Regions from separate parts of the Homo sapiens genome. Here region 1 is linked to region 2. The links are contacts of gene promoters, found by promoter capture Hi-C in human tissues and cell types (Jung and others, 2019). All regions are on one chromosome and are shown on one strand. The core of a region is centred on a gene start or on the middle of the fragment in contact, and the rest is flanking DNA. Distances in the headings are between cores, read along the strand shown.

Evidence for each region. The method cuts DNA at HindIII sites, captures the fragments that hold promoters and counts their contacts. A contact is called where the count stands out against the background at its distance.
Region 1: a contact is called between a fragment that was not itself captured here and the fragment with the promoter of ADO in region 2, in 1 of the 25 tissues and cell types used here (dorsolateral prefrontal cortex).

What each region holds. Positions count from the first base shown.
Region 1 is chr10:61,980,080-61,982,779 of GRCh38, reverse strand. The region is part of intron 3 of ARID5B (AT-rich interaction domain 5B); the gene reads right to left. Among named protein-coding and RNA genes, the nearest start is that of ARID5B, 80 kb to the right of the region's middle. The HindIII fragment of the contact is 6,104 bases long and covers 1-2,700 here.
Region 2 is chr10:62,803,283-62,805,982 of GRCh38, reverse strand. It overlaps ADO (2-aminoethanethiol dioxygenase), which reads right to left and starts at 1,263. Exons shown (of 1, transcript NM_032804.6): 1 at 1-1,263. The coding sequence starts at 923. The coding sequence ends at 111. RefSeq lists enhancers at 659-778, 1,249-1,508 and a silencer at 959-1,208. The HindIII fragment of the contact is 8,494 bases long and covers 1-2,700 here.

The DNA of each region.
Region 1 (2,700 bases), core at 18-2,517, 820 kb after region 2:
AGTGTTAGGTTACCATTTCCCAAGGCCAGCCAAATACCCTCCCACCTTTCTCTAACAGCTTCTAAGGCTTTGGAGCTGGAACAAATATTCTCATGCACAAGTTAGTGGAAGAGATTCTTCCAATCAAATTTCCCACCACATGATATCTTGGGCTAGGACGCTCTTTTATAAGTGTCAATGAGTTATTCCCTCATGGATAACGATGAAGAGACTACTTTTCTTTAGCTGTAAGAAATAATTTTTATCTTTGCTCACACCTTCTTTAAAAGCATTTTTTTTAACTCAGAATATATAAATACATCCTTGTTGTAAAAGACAAAGTAATGACTCCCTTGACCTCCTCGCAAACCCTTATACTTTAATGGAGGCTTATGTTTCCACTTCAACAGAGCCTTCTTGAAAACTGGAGAACAGTTGTTCTTGACAAGAAGGAGGCCAAGAAGAAAAGGGAAGAAAACTGGTCCAACAATTCTAGCTCGGTTCTGGGGTGTCTGACTTTTTTTAAAAAATCACCATGAAATAACAGCCCTCTTAATTCTTCTAGAATGTAATTTACTTAGCACAGAGGCAAAAACATCCCACCTATCTGATACACTGTGACAACTCAGAGCACACGGCAAGGATGCAAATCTGTGAAGACAGCCAGCTCTAATCTAACCCCAAGTCTCCAACTCTATACTGCTTCTTCCAACACGTGGAGAAGTGAGAATGATTACATTTTGTTCAAAGTGTCTCATTACATTGATTTAAATAAGATTTCCAAACCTGCAAAAAGAAAAACAGCTTAAAATGCCATTTGTCTTATACAAGACTCTATAAAAAGGCAGGTAGTGAAACCCTGCAGAAACCCAGGTTGGTGGGGACCAAAGTCTCTCCCACCATGGACGTCTGACAGGAGGATAATGGAATTTAGTAACACCTAGGTGAGGTGTTTCTTTTCTGCTTAATGCATCCTTGGATGACCAACATAATGTAACAGACAGGTGTTAAGAGACCTGCATTGAGGAACAGACATTGTGGGTTTTGAGATCATAAACTTGAGGAACTTGTTCCATCTCTGAGAAGATCTCACACACCTGAACAGGTAAGATAAGGTCCAGTTTGCAAACTGCCAAGCACACTTCCTGATGTTTATTAACACCACAGTCATTATGACATTTAATGCCAAACTACAGGGAAAAAAAAGATAAAAACCTCAGGCCAGGCATGGTGACTCATGCCTATAATCCCAGCACTTTGGGAGGCTGAGTCGGGTGGATCACTTGAGGTCAGGAGTTTGAGACCAGCCTGGCCAACATAGCAAAACCCTGTCTCTATTAAAAATATAAAAATTAATTGGGTGTGGTGGTATGCTCCTGTAATCCCAGCTACTTGGGAGGGTGAGGCAGGAGAATCGCTTGAACCCGGGAGGCAGAGATTGCGGTGAGTGGAAAGTGCGCCACTGCACTCCAGCCTGGGTGACAGAGCAAGACTCTGTCTCCAAACAAACAAACAAAACAAAACTCAGGCTACCCACCAAGAGTGTTCAGTTATTGCACTGTCCTGCTAGAATACAGCTGCCTTTGATTGAACATGCACTACAGACAGGCAAGCTCTAAGCCCTTGATGTGTATTTCATCACTGTAGCAATCCTATGAGGGATAAGTTTACTGCTTCCATTTTATAGATGAGGAAATTGAGGCTTAGAGAGATTAAGCAACCTGTTCAAGGTGACTCTGGAACCCAGGTCTGTCTGATTCCAAAGCCCACAGTCATAGCCACTGCTTATAAGTTCTGAGAGAGGCCTGTGCCCAGATGAACCGATGACACAAAGGCAGATGCCACGGAAGCAGCACTGAGAACAGACGCAAGGCAGTGGAGGTGCCCAGAGGAGCAACCTACTGGGTGAGTGATGATATTTGGGATACTGGCATCCTAGGAGACAGGACAGTAGTCACTGTCCTGGGAAGCCATGTTCCTCTCCATTCCTGTTCAGGGTCAGCACAAAACCTGTGATTTTGGAGGAGGCAGAAGGGGGGCCCATCTTGGGTTTGCCATTCTAGTTCCTTCACTACCAGCCAAGTGGAGGCAGATATTTACTGAGCACAGCAACACTTACTATTATTGTAAGAGAGGGCTTTGGAACCAGGAAGCTCGATGAATTTATGAGATCAGCAGCTATTTTTCCAAGATGGTTATAATACAATTCATTTCATTTGCAACTGGTTTAACGTGAAACATTGTTTAAGAGAGACAAATAAACAACAATTCACATTTGCTGGGCTTCTCTCCTCCCCACCCCTCCCAGTTGTTCCACAGGAAATTTTTTATTGATTAAAGTACAATTACATTAAGGTTGGGAAAAATCAGCCCCAGAATAAATCGTTTTAAGAAGAAATCAAGGCGATGCCTTATGAAGAGGCAGCATAAGGAGGAGAAATATGAAACAGGCACTGGATTTGTAACCATGGGCAAAGAAGGGCTTCATTCTCTGGCTCTGTAAAATGACAGAGTCACTGTCTTCTAGGGAGACTGTGACCAGGTAAAGACAGCACTGCCTGTGGCTTCCATTAGCCTCTAGGCACTTTGCCCTCCTGAGCCCCTTCCTCCATAGGAAAAGATTAAAAGTCACATTTTAGGACTACATTGGTACACAGATAAATATATAAATAATGTATTAAAACATATTTTTCTGTTTTATTTTTTTGAGACAGAGTCTCG
Region 2 (2,700 bases), core at 14-2,513:
GGCTGCTGCTCATTCCAGTAGATCCAACGCCCAGGCTAGGGGGTAGAGACACAGCCCTTGTGGTAGGGTAGGGCACGTCTTCGGCCCACCGCTCCTGGGCGCCAGTGGCTTCAAGGGAAGACCTTGGGACCTGGATAGGGTTCTCCCTCGCACCAGAAGTCATCGGCCTGTGGGGTCTCCAGGAGCCACACCTCTCGAGGCAGGTCACAGGCCGAGCTGGAGGCCTCCTTGGGCCTGACCGGCTCCAGCACCCGGTAATAGTGGCAGTCCCGGCCATCGTCCGGGTCGTAGGGCGGGGCCAGGATGTCCAGGAAGGCGGCAGGCCCTTCCACGGCGTCGATCTGGTGCAGGTTGTCCCGGTGCGGTGTGAGGATGCAGGGGCCGCTGGCCTCGGTGTACTCGGCCCGCGAACGCAGCACGCCCGGCCGCACGGCTTCTCGCTCCCGGGGCTGCAGCGGCGGCTCGAACTGCTGCTCGGGCGGCAAGGCCCGCGGCCGTTGCCCGCCGCCCGCGTCTAGCTTGTCCATGCAGCTGATGCGCACGGTGCCGTACAGCACCTTGAGCATGCCGTGCATGCCCGGGTGGTCGTGCAGCGGGATGGACGTGCCGCTCTTGAGCAGGAACACGCCCAGGCTGAAGCCGTCCGTCTCGTAGATGTGCATGTAGGTGACTGGCGGCAGGTTGGGCGGCAGCGGCTGCAGTGTGGCCTTGCGCGGGGCGATGTTCAAGTCCTCGGCGCGGAGCTGGGTCAGGAGGCTCTTCAGCTTGCTCAGGTTCTCGGGGAAGCCCGGCTGCATCGGCGCCTCCGGGCCAGAAGCCGCGTCGCGATCGGAAGCGCCGCGGCCGCCCCCGCTGCCCCGGAAGGTGAGGCAAGCCTGGCGGGCGATCCGTTGGATCAAGGAGGCCATGTTGTCTCGGGGCATGGTCGGCTGCTCCTCTGCGTGCCGGGACCGGCCCCCTCCTTTCCTCCGCCCCTTGCGGTCCCCGGCGGCCGCCACGGCTGCCCCCAGCCCGGGTCGAGGCGGGAGGCCCCGCAACCACCGGCCCGTCGGGCGCGCGGCACCGCCGCCAACCTCAGCAGCCACGCGCCCGCAACTGCCCGGCGCGCTCGCCTTGAGCCCCCTCTGAGCGCGCACGCGCACGCCCCACACCCCGCACTCACGCTCCGGGAGCAGATAGCGGCCGCGCAGACGGTGCCAGGCTTTGCCTTACGCCCGGCGCTCCATTCATGCGGCCCGCACCTACGACGGTGGCCGGGCGCCCGGGGACCCTGCGGAGCATGCCGGGACTTGTAGTCCGGCCTTCCGCTTGAGCTCTGAGATAGTTCAGTTTGTTGATTGGAAAATAGAGGAACTATTACACATGTTGGGCATAAAGCGATCTTTTTCAGGATGCAGAGGTGTTTTTCTTGTTTTAGAAAAGATGAATCGGGGTGGAAGATTAGTAGCCACTTGACTACAACTCCCGGCACTCCCCGCAGGGTGGAGTGACGCACTTCCGTCAGCTGGCCCCCGGAGTAGTGGAGGCTCTTGGCCTTCATAAGGAAAGGGGCAGGGAGGGTCGTTAACCTTCTGGCGCCGCGCTGGGGCCTGGTTAGCCATGCAGGGTCGCCTTCCTTTGGCCTTGCCCCTGGGAAGGAGGCTGTTGAGTCAGCCTTAGCTCCTCGTAGCGGCCTAGGCAGCACTGTCTCCCACGGGAATTGCAGGAGGGCGCTTTTATAATTTTGTGTTTCCTAGGAGGGGAGGGGGTCCAGGCCGTCCTCTGTGATCATCAAGGTTACTCGGCCCAGCTGGGCCCAGCTGGGCCCAGCTGTTGTTTGCATCAGGACCTGATGACGCTGCTCTTCTGGTTACAGAGCAGTATAGCTTTTTGCTGGAGAGACTTGAGAGGCCATTTACAGTGGTCGTGGATTCTGAACATACTAGTGGTTATCAAATCTTGGTTTGCCTGAGAAGGGGGAGCGGGCTTTTATAAATGCAGATTCCCTGTCGTCACCCAGAGATGGAGTTACTAGATGGTTCTGAGGCATCCTAGGAGAAATAGTGGTGTGCAACAGTCAGTTCAGTCAGTAATTGTGAAATTGTTTCACTACACAGAGGCATCCTTCTCCTTGGCGTGAACTAACTTTTGGCATAAGTAAATGACTAGAAAAGCAAGACATTAGATACTATGACTTTAAACTTAACCCTGAGTTTAAAGTCTTTTTGGATTCCAAAGCTGAACATGGGTTTCTTGTACATTTTGTAATTGGAGTGGTTCAGTGAATCCTCTCCAGTTAAAATAGGCATACTTTTTAAAGTGGATTACATAACCTGGCTAATGAGTACTCACAATATGCCAGGCACTGTGTTAAGTGCATTATATAATGAATGTTATACTATTTAATCCTTGCAGCAACTCTTAAGAGGCAGGCACTATTATTATTCCCAGATTGCAGATGAGGGAATAAGTTGTAGGATAGTGAATACTAAGTACCCAGCAAAGCATGAGCAGCAGAGCAGAAATAAGTACAGTCTTACCAAAAACAGCAGCTTGAATTGGTGTAAAAGCACCAAACGAGAGTCAGGATATTGTTGTTCCAGCCTACTGTGTGTACTTACAAGCTGTGTGTCGTTAGGCAAATCCTACCCTTTTAGGGCCTCAATTTATTCATTTGTAGAATGCCGGTGTTAAGGGAACAAAAGTTCTGAACCCTACTCA